Regions from separate parts of the Homo sapiens genome. Here all the other regions are linked to region 3. Evidence: promoter capture Hi-C in 16 types of primary human blood cells and fetal thymus (Javierre and others, 2016). All regions are on one chromosome and are shown on one strand. Each heading gives the region's core, a stretch centred on a gene start or on the middle of the fragment in contact. The rest is flanking DNA. Distances are from core to core; before and after follow the strand shown.

Evidence for each region. The method cuts DNA at HindIII sites, captures the fragments that hold promoters and counts their contacts. A CHiCAGO score of 5 or more calls a contact.
Region 1: a contact is called between a fragment that was not itself captured here and the fragment with the promoter of GALNT12 in region 3, in 1 of 17 cell types (M0 macrophages). The highest score is 5.3, in M0 macrophages.
Region 2: the fragment with the promoter of TGFBR1 here is called in contact with the fragment with the promoter of GALNT12 in region 3 in 15 of 17 cell types (M0 macrophages, M2 macrophages, M1 macrophages and 12 more); the score reaches 30.8 in M0 macrophages.

Annotation. Positions count from the first base shown.
Region 1 is chr9:99,152,135-99,155,713 of GRCh38, forward strand. It overlaps TGFBR1 (transforming growth factor beta receptor 1), which reads left to right. Exons shown (of 9, transcript NM_004612.4): 9 at 1-2,058. Among named protein-coding and RNA genes, the nearest start is that of TGFBR1, 49 kb to the left of the region's middle. The HindIII fragment of the contact is 1,498 bases long and covers 508-2,005 here.
Region 2 is chr9:99,103,525-99,107,055 of GRCh38, forward strand. It overlaps TGFBR1 (transforming growth factor beta receptor 1), which reads left to right and starts at 1,589. Exons shown (of 9, transcript NM_004612.4): 1 at 1,589-1,778. The coding sequence starts at 1,682. RefSeq lists silencers at 1,117-1,716, 1,807-2,316. The HindIII fragment of the contact is 12,693 bases long and covers 1-3,531 here.
Region 3 is chr9:98,806,231-98,809,695 of GRCh38, forward strand. GALNT12 (polypeptide N-acetylgalactosaminyltransferase 12) reads left to right here and starts at 1,440. Exons shown (of 10, transcript NM_024642.5): 1 at 1,440-1,839. The coding sequence starts at 1,469. It overlaps LOC124902229 (a long non-coding RNA gene), which reads right to left and starts at 1,350. Exons shown (of 2, transcript XR_007061689.1): 1 at 541-1,350. RefSeq lists silencers at 1,322-1,411, 1,512-1,581. The HindIII fragment of the contact is 2,789 bases long and covers 409-3,197 here.

The DNA.
Region 1 (3,579 bases), core at 7-2,506, 350 kb after region 3:
GCTGCTCTGGAGACCTAGAGTAAAACGGCTGATGGAAGTTGTGGGACCCACTTCCATTTCCTTCAGTCATTAGAGGTGGAAGGGAGGGGTCTCCAAGTTTGGAGATTGAGCAGATGAGGCTTGGGATGCCCCTGCTTTGACTTCAGCCATGGATGAGGAGTGGGATGGCAGCAAGGTGGCTCCTGTGGCAGTGGAGTTGTGCCAGAAACAGTGGCCAGTTGTATCGCCTATAAGACAGGGTAAGGTCTGAAGAGCTGAGCCTGTAATTCTGCTGTAATAATGATAGTGCTCAAGAAGTGCCTTGAGTTGGTGTACAGTGCCATGGCCATCAAGAATCCCAGATTTCAGGTTTTATTACAAAATGTAAGTGGTCACTTGGCGATTTTGTAGTACATGCATGAGTTACCTTTTTTCTCTATGTCTGAGAACTGTCAGATTAAAACAAGATGGCAAAGAGATCGTTAGAGTGCACAACAAAATCACTATCCCATTAGACACATCATCAAAAGCTTATTTTTATTCTTGCACTGGAAGAATCGTAAGTCAACTGTTTCTTGACCATGGCAGTGTTCTGGCTCCAAATGGTAGTGATTCCAAATAATGGTTCTGTTAACACTTTGGCAGAAAATGCCAGCTCAGATATTTTGAGATACTAAGGATTATCTTTGGACATGTACTGCAGCTTCTTGTCTCTGTTTTGGATTACTGGAATACCCATGGGCCCTCTCAAGAGTGCTGGACTTCTAGGACATTAAGATGATTGTCAGTACATTAAACTTTTCAATCCCATTATGCAATCTTGTTTGTAAATGTAAACTTCTAAAAATATGGTTAATAACATTCAACCTGTTTATTACAACTTAAAAGGAACTTCAGTGAATTTGTTTTTATTTTTTAACAAGATTTGTGAACTGAATATCATGAACCATGTTTTGATACCCCTTTTTCACGTTGTGCCAACGGAATAGGGTGTTTGATATTTCTTCATATGTTAAGGAGATGCTTCAAAATGTCAATTGCTTTAAACTTAAATTACCTCTCAAGAGACCAAGGTACATTTACCTCATTGTGTATATAATGTTTAATATTTGTCAGAGCATTCTCCAGGTTTGCAGTTTTATTTCTATAAAGTATGGGTATTATGTTGCTCAGTTACTCAAATGGTACTGTATTGTTTATATTTGTACCCCAAATAACATCGTCTGTACTTTCTGTTTTCTGTATTGTATTTGTGCAGGATTCTTTAGGCTTTATCAGTGTAATCTCTGCCTTTTAAGATATGTACAGAAAATGTCCATATAAATTTCCATTGAAGTCGAATGATACTGAGAAGCCTGTAAAGAGGAGAAAAAAACATAAGCTGTGTTTCCCCATAAGTTTTTTTAAATTGTATATTGTATTTGTAGTAATATTCCAAAAGAATGTAAATAGGAAATAGAAGAGTGATGCTTATGTTAAGTCCTAACACTACAGTAGAAGAATGGAAGCAGTGCAAATAAATTACATTTTTCCCAAGTGCCAGTGGCATATTTTAAAATAAAGTGTATACGTTGGAATGAGTCATGCCATATGTAGTTGCTGTAGATGGCAACTAGAACCTTTGAGTTACAAGAGTCTTTAGAAGTTTTCTAACCCTGCCTAGTGCAAGTTACAATATTATAGCGTGTTCGGGGAGTGCCCTCCTGTCTGCAGGTGTGTCTCTGTGCCTGGGGGCTTTTCTCCACATGCTTAGGGGTGTGGGTCTTCCATTGGGGCATGATGGACCTGTCTACAGGTGATCTCTGTTGCCTTTGGGTCAGCACATTTGTTAGTCTCCTGGGGGTGAAAACTTGGCTTACAAGAGAACTGGAAAAATGATGAGATGTGGTCCCCAAACCCTTGATTGACTCTGGGGAGGGGCTTTGTGAATAGGATTGCTCTCACATTAAAGATAGTTACTTCAATTTGAAGGCTGGATTTAGGGATTTTTTTTTTTCCTTATAACAAAGACATCACCAGGATATGAAGCTTTTGTTGAAAGTTGGAAAAAAAGTGAAATTAAAGACATTCCCAGACAAATACTAAGACAATTTGTTGCCTATGGACGTCTGCCTTACAAGAAATACTAAATCCTTCACACAGAAAATAAATGACACCAGATGGTAACCTGAATCCACAGGATGAAATGAAGAGCACCAGAAATGGTGGATATATGTACAACTAGCAAAGACTGTATGATTGTATAGCTGCCATAAATTACTACAAATGCCCTGGCTTAAAGCAACACCTATTTATGATCTCAGAATTCCATAATTCAGAAGTCTAGGCATAGCTCAGATGGTTCTCTGCTCCATATTTTAAAAGGTCAAAATGAAGGCATTGGCTGGGCAACATTCTTTTCTGGAGGCTCGGATGAATAGGCTTCCAAGCTCATTGAGGTTGTTGGCAGAATTCAGCTCCATATGGTTGTAAGACAGGTTGGCCAGGGGTGGTTGTCAGTTTCTAGAAGCCACTCAAATTCTTTGGCTCGTGGTTCCCTCCTCCATCATCAAAACCAGCAGCAATGGGTTGAATCATCCTTGCACTTTTCTCGGATCTCCCCTTCTGCCTCATCTCTCCACTGTCTCTTCCACTGCATCTCTCTAATGCTTCTGCTTCCCTCTTCTGCTTTTAAGGGGCCATGTGATTACTCAGGGGGCCATCTGGATAATCCAGGATAATTACCCTATTTAGTAACCTCAGTTTTACCTGCAAAGTGCATTCACTGCAGTACCAAGATTAGTATTTGATTAAATAACTAGAGAATGGGAATCTTGGGGAAATAATTTGCCTACCAAAATAAATGTAAGTTATCTTTCAGTAGCATAAGACTATATAGTAATTACATCACCATACTGTTGGGTTTACAATATAGGTGCAGTGTATATTAATAACAAAGGAGTGGGTAGGAAATGGAACTCTATTGGGACAAAGATGTATCTTATTAGAATTAATTAGTCCTAATTTGAAGATGATTGTAATAAATTGAAATGCATGCTGTAGAGCCTGGAGTAACCACTGAAGCATCAATTTAAAAATAAATTAAAAAAAACAAAATGGTACACCAAGAAATATTTAACACAAAAGGCAGAAAGAAAGAAGCAAAATGATAGACATTTGGAAAACAAATAGCAAAATGGCAGCCATAAGTAATCATGCCAATAATTTCATTAAATGTGAATGGACTAAATAGTTAAAAGGTAGAGATGGTCAGGATGGATTTAAAAAGAAAAAACTATATGGTGTTCACAGAGGCACACTGTAGATTCAAAGACCAATAGCTGTAAAGTGAAAGTATGGAAAAATATAACATGCAAACAGTAATCGTAAGAGAGCTGGAATGTCTATATCAGTACAGTGGGCTTTAAGACAAATATTACTGGAAATATAGGATATTTTAAAAAGCCAATATATCAGATATAACAGTTAACATATGTATATGCACCTAACAGGACCCCAAAATAACGAGAAAAATGATAGAATTGAGAGGAGAAATGGACAATTTAATAATATTTGGAGATTTTGACACCTACAATAATTGATAGAATGACTCAATTGAGA
Region 2 (3,531 bases), core at 339-2,838, 300 kb after region 3:
GGACCTCAGGTGGCACAAAGTCCACCAAATCTCCATTGAAGAAACTGGAACTGAGAGGGCAAATTGGGACTGGAGCCTGCCAGAAGCCATCTCTCTGGAATCCCTCAGCCTGAGCAAGAGGGGAGTTTGCTGCTGAGGCTGCTGGAGCTGCGGTGTAGAGCAAGTTGCAGGCCTCTGAGCCTGTTGGAGGTTCAGAAAGGTTAGCTGACTTGCTTAAGTAAGTGTCCTAGACAGGAGGGAGAAAGCGCGCGGGTCTCAGATCCCAGCTCCAATATCCACGCCTTTTCCCTTTTCATCTCCCGGAAGGAAGCCTTCACAGGTGGGGAAAATGCTCACCCAGTGACTCTAAAGTAGTGCACAAATTGGCATTAATCAGAACCATTCTGATTCCTGCTATCAAGGTTTATTTAATTCTAAGCTCAAATGACACAGAAAATAAAATTTCCTCCTTAAAAGGTTCTGCGGAAAAATATTCTCTGTTCTACGTAACAGCCTCCTTGGCTGTGTTTGTGTCTGAAGAAAGGACTAGTCTGACAGGAAGAATTACAAATCTGGAGCTCATTTTGGCGTCGCAGAGGGAAGGTGGGTGGAGCGTCTCGCAGTAAATTAGGAATTCAGAATGAAAACGTAGAGTTTATTTGGGTTTTTAGTGACACCTCAGGATTATTATACAGCAGTGTCAGACACAGCTCAAAGTAATGATGACTGCTCCCCCTCCGCCCCGCGGGAGCTGGGTGCTAAGAAGGGGGAACCCCTCCTTTGAGGGGTTGGGGTGGGGATCCTCCCTTTCCAACCTGGATCGGGAAGGGGTTTGAGAGGAGTGCGGCTTGGATCCCCATCCTGGATCTGTGCTGGAGGGAGGCGGGAGGCTATTTGGGGGTGTGTTTGGGCTCAGGATCTGGGTCTGACGCTGGGATCTGAGGACTTTCTGGGTTTGGAACTGGGTGGGGGAGCTGGGTTTGGGGTGACCGCTGGGAGCAGGAGGAAATAGGAGAGTGAGTCGCATGTGAAGGGCACTGAGGAGGGATCTTCGGGGGAATGCTGAAGTTGATGCGTGGACTTGGAGAGGGGAAGTTGAAGTGGATGCAGGGGCCTGGCGCTGCAGCGGATCTGGGTGGCATGTGCTGGGATTGCCAATGCGGAGCTGTGAATGGGGTCAGGGTGGGGCTGAGGCAGTACCAGATCTTCCGCGCCTAGAGGAGGTTAGAAGAAAAGAGCGTCGAACGGCCACAGCCTTTTTCCGAAAGAGACTCACACAGACACACCCATCGCTCTACCCGGCCCTCCGGGGCTAGCGGCTGAGCGGTGCTGGGGCTGGCAGACCCCGCCCCCACGCGGCCTCTCGGAGCCGGGAGCCGATCGGGCCGGGGCTGGGGTCTGGCGGCCCAGCCCCCGGGGAGCGTGGGGCGTGGCCAGAAACCGGCGCTCGCGGCTGCGGATTGGCTGCCTGGCGGGCCCGCAGGCGGGGCTCCCGGCTGGGTCCCGCTTGGCAGCTCGCGGCGGCGGGGAGGCGGGGCCGGCGGGAGCCCGGCAGCCAATGGACGCGCGTCCTCCGAGCAGTTACAAAGGGCCGGAGCGAGGCCGCCGCGGCGGCTAGGGAGGTGGGGCGAGGCGAGGTTTGCTGGGGTGAGGCAGCGGCGCGGCCGGGCCGGGCCGGGCCACAGGCGGTGGCGGCGGGACCATGGAGGCGGCGGTCGCTGCTCCGCGTCCCCGGCTGCTCCTCCTCGTGCTGGCGGCGGCGGCGGCGGCGGCGGCGGCGCTGCTCCCGGGGGCGACGGGTGAGCGGCGGCGCGGCGGGCGGGCGACTGCGGGGCGCGCGGGCCGGACCCGGCCTCTGGCTCGCTCCTGCTCTTTCTCAAACATGGCGCGGGGCCGGGGGCGCAGGTGGCGGCGCCGGGGCCCGGGCCGGGCTCTCGTGGCGCCGCGCGGCTCGGCGGCTGCCGGGCGAACCGCAAGCGGGGAGCGGAGGCGGGGCAGGGGCGTGTGTCCGGGCGCGGGCGGACGTGTCCGGCTGCCCGAGGCCGCCCCGCTCGGGACTCCCCGGGGAGGTGGAGTCGGGCGGAGTCGTCCGAGGTCCGGGGCTGCCCTCTGGGGTGTGAGTGGGCGAGGGCCAGGGGCGGAGAGTGCGAGGCCGGCGGGGACTGGCAGAGCCGTGGCTGCCCGCCGCCGCCCCCTGGGCACGGCGTGACCTTGTTCTGGGGACCCCCGCCCCAAGAGGGTCCGTGCCAGAGGCTGCCGAACCCGGGGCGGGGTTTGAGGTTGGGGTGGAAGGCGGCTCCCGGGCGGGGTGTGAGCTCCGAGCCTCTAGGGCTTCGTCCAGTGGGAGTCGGGGGCGACGTGTGGTGAGACCCCTGGGTCCGCAGGCCGCCCTGACTCCCGCCCGGCTCGACCCGAGCCGACCCTGCTGGAAGGGGCTGCTCCTCCAGCCAGGGGGGCTTTGTGTGAGAAGAAGGAAGCGCGGAGATGCGCGGAATGTTTCTTCTTTCGTGCGTCTGGGGAGTGTTGAAGTGAGTCCAGTAACCAGACGGCTACGGATTGTTTTCATAGTGGAAACTTGAACGTTTGCTCATTCTGCGGGTTTTGGAAATTTTGGGAACGACTGTGAATTGATTAAACGCTTTTTATTTCCTCGAAGGAACATCACTCACGTTGTTCCTTTTCTTGAGTGACAGTTAATAGTTTGATTCAGACATCTGTATAGCTGGTTTTCAAGGAAGACTGTTGGCTGGATTTTTCAAAATAGTAAATCAGGTTGGGGTAGGTGGTTGGTATCCACAAAGGGATGAGTGAAAAACTTCGTTAGCAGCTGAACTGAGACACTAGAAGCTAAAATACACAGCCTCAGTGTTAGCAACTAAAATGCAGTGAAAGTACATTTCTGTTTCTGAAACTGGACAAAAGATGTTGAAATTTTTTTAAAAAATCAAGACTGACGGTGACGATTATAATCAGTCCTAATAGCTACCGTCTATGTATTGTGCATTACTACGATGTAAATGCATACACTATTGTATAATTACATTATTTAATCACCACAAGTAAACTCCCAGGAGTAGTGGCATTTGCCCCACTTTACAGATGTGCAAAGTGGGGTACAGACACGTTAAGTACCCAATAACTTAAGTGCTAAAGCTAGGATTTTCACTCAGATCTCAGTTTCCCAAACCTGTATGTCATATATATATATAAATATGTATACATCATACTATCTGGCGTAGCCCATTTTTCTTCTTCAGTCGTCTGATGAGCAATTGGTCTTTATTATCCACTTTGGATTCTGTCCTCATGATTTGAGTATCAGATAGGCTTCATTCCGACTCTTAGCACATTGTTGAGTCCCTTCACGTGGGCCTGCATTAGAGGAAACAATGGATTTTTGACATTGGCCTAGGGAGGAAGGCAGGATAACTGTGTGGACATTTGGGAGAATCAGTATAGTTAGGCATGAAACACAGGTAACATTTCCACACCGCTATTAACTTGAATAACACAGTGCACTCTTTTCCACCAGAAGTAGCACAAGAAGCGTTC
Region 3 (3,465 bases), core at 190-2,689:
GGGAGATTTCCTCTGGGGATACCAGTAGCCAAAGGCTGTATGAAGACAACAGCAAGTCAGATTCTACCTCTACCTGAGCCGCCAAGTTCAAGGTCCTCTCCCCACCCTGTGTCTCAGACCCCGCATTTATCAATGAGATAATTGGACCAGATTTGTGCTTTTTAAACTTTCTGGGCTTCTGGTCTCCTTGAGAATATTTGATAAAAAGCTTTGGACCAACTTCCCATGGTAAAACAAACAACAACAAATAGAGCTTACACTCTATCCTTCTACAGGGGATACAGAATGATTCTTTTCCCTGAGCTAGACACCAGCAGAGGGAGTTCCAGATTAATTTAAGATATGATTTGAAATCTCTGCTATCACTTTTACATTCAGATATCTGTGTAGACATTACTTCATCAGAGAAGCTTTCCAAAACCCCCAAACTAGATCAAGTTCTACTATTCTAAGCCCTTTTAGCGCCCTGTAATTCTTCTTCAAAATACTTAACACAATTCTAATTATCTTTTTAATATTTGTCTACTCCATTAGACTTACTTCGTCCCTGGCAGCTCAAGGCTCCCACAGCAGTGATCTCATGAACAGGGCGGCAGCTTCATGGCCTTTTTTGGTTGTTGTTTAATAGAAACAGGATCTCGCTTTGTCATCCAGGCTGCAGCGCAGTGGCGCATAGTTCACGGTAACCTCCAATTCCTGGGCTCACACAATCCTCCTGCTTCAGCATCCTGAGTAGCTGGCACTATAGGCACGTGCCACCATGCATGGCTAATTCTGAAATTTTTCTGTAGAGATGGGAGTCTTGCTATGTTGACCAGTCTCGTTTTAAGCTCCTGGCTTCAAGTGATCCTCCTATCTCGGCCTGGGATTACAGGTGTGAACTATCATGTACAGCCTTCATGGCCTTTTGCTCCTAGCCTCAGAGGTCACAGAGCTATCACGAGGCGAGCCAGGCGAGGGTTTGCTATTCAAGGACTCCAAAGAGTATGGCAGAGGCTGGGCCTGCAGAAGTCAGTGGGGCAGCGTGGTGTCTGTTGATCTCATCGCACCTCCATCTCCTCATCTGTAAAAGGGAGCTCGTAATCCTAGTTGATGGTTGTTTTATTGGACTGTGTAAAGATCAGATGAGATAATGGCAGTAGAATTCATAACACCCTGCAGGGTGTATTCAGCCAACACTTAGCGCCTACAATATGCCAGGCGCTAAGGGTTTTACCACCACTATCTCTTTAATAATGCACCATAGCCCAAGAAGGAAGATGCAAGTCTCAGCCAGCCCACTTGAAGACCCTGCCGAAATGAGCCACCCCGGGGGCTGCGCTTGGGCTGGCGCGGGGCTGGACGGAAAGGGGGCGGCGCGCAGGTGGGGCGGGCCGGGGGCGGGGCGGCACGGCGGTTCCGGGATCCGGGTCCTGGCCTCCACCGCCGCCTTGGGGCGCGCAGATCGCTGGCTGCAGTTGGCGGGCGCATGTGGGGGCGCACGGCGCGGCGGCGCTGCCCGCGGGAACTGCGGCGCGGCCGGGAGGCGCTGTTGGTGCTCCTGGCGCTACTGGCGTTGGCCGGGCTGGGCTCGGTGCTGCGGGCGCAGCGTGGGGCCGGGGCCGGGGCTGCCGAGCCGGGACCCCCGCGCACCCCGCGCCCCGGGCGGCGCGAGCCGGTCATGCCGCGGCCGCCGGTGCCGGCGAACGCGCTGGGCGCGCGGGGCGAGGCGGTGCGGCTGCAGCTGCAGGGCGAGGAGCTGCGGCTGCAGGAGGAGAGCGTGCGGCTGCACCAGATTAACATCTACCTCAGCGACCGCATCTCACTGCACCGCCGCCTGCCCGAGCGCTGGAACCCGCTGTGAGTGCACAGCTCTGGGGAGGAAGCCCGCCCTCAGAGCCCCGGGCCTCAGTTTCTCCATCAGAGCAGTGGCAGGGCGGGGAGCTGGGGTCTCCAGGATGGCGCGTCTTATTGAGTCTTTCTCCGAAGACGATAGTGTAAGAGCTCACATGGGGGCGGGGAGGCAAGAAAGTAAAAAAGACGAAAGTAGAAAAAAAATTACCAGAAATTGGCAAGTCTGTTAGTGATCTCTTAGCTCCCTTCTCCTTGAGAAGTTATCATCTCCCTGAAAAGGTGAGGGTCAGGGCTAAGCAGAAGGGTTTAAGGCGAGGACCCCCCAGCACCCAAAGGACAACCCCGCTCTGCCCGCCTCGCAGTGCCTCCGCGAAACTGACAACTCCTCCGGGCGGTGACCGGCTCCATTCATTCTCTGTGTGTGCCAGGGCCTAAGGGACAAACAAGATGCGAGGGAGCGCCCCACAGGTGAAGCGAAAGATGGCTGTAAGGCCCCCTCAGCGCTAGAAAGCCTCCTTGTGCTCTCCCTGGGCATTGGATTTCTGAGCTTTGGGTGGAGGAAGGCGGGAAGGGGCACGGGGTGGGAAGGGCTCCTTCTGGCCGTGATCCACCCCAGCTCACTCCTGTGGGTGGTGCTGGACTGGAGCCAGCGTGGTCAGAGGCCTAGTTCCTGTTGGAGCTACTGGCTGGGCAGGTTGCGCCCCTGCCTAGGTGGGGATCCAGGGCACACGCTGGCAGCAGGAGGAAGGACAGGTGGCTGCTGCCACCTTTGCCGCTGGGCCTCCCGGGCTCTCACTTTTTCTTCGAAGTGTCAGGGATCTTCCAAGTCCTTTTTTGAGCCCCTTCCTTACAGACTTTGAGGAAAAGAGGACTCAGAGAGGGGGTTCCCATTGGAGCTGGTGGTGGCAGCCTGCCGTGTGCACCAGGCACCTGCCACTCCTCTCCCCTTCAAGCCATTCCTGCTTTACAGGTGTGGAAATAGGTTCGGAAAGGATAGGTGACCCACCCAAGGCCCCTCAGCTGGAATGTGGTAGGACTGGTCTGGAGGGACTATGGCCCTTCTGGCCCACTTGGCACCATGCTGATCTCAGGATTTTAGGGGCCTGCTCCATGGTACCTTGGCCAGAGAGACCATGAATGATGGAATGAGGATGCCCCACCTCTGCCCCACTGTTTCCACTGTCTTCCCTGTTTTGGGGATCTCCTCATGCCTAGCCTCATGCTTCTGCCTGAGGCATTTTTCACTGTTAGTCTTTTTGAATAAAACTTTGTTGGGATTGATAGTAGTTCCTCCACTCACCAGCCTAACGCATGTTTAGCTCCTCGAAACCCCGAGGGTGCCCGCTGAGGCAAGGTGGAGGGGAAGCTTTCAGGTTATACCCAGCTTCAGATTAAATCCAGCCCAGGGGAGATAAAATCCTGGTTCTTTTGCTCGTCACTTCTGTGATCTCTGGCAAGCTGCTTAGCCTCTCAGAGCCTTGGTTTCCCTTCGTTTGCGAAATAGGAAACTCATAAAAGTGAGTCTCCATGCATTCTACATAAAAGTGAGTGGAAAGAACACAACTTAGGAATTAATAAAGCATCAATACCTGGGAGCACACTGTGTGCTTAAATCTTAGTTTTTTCACCTTT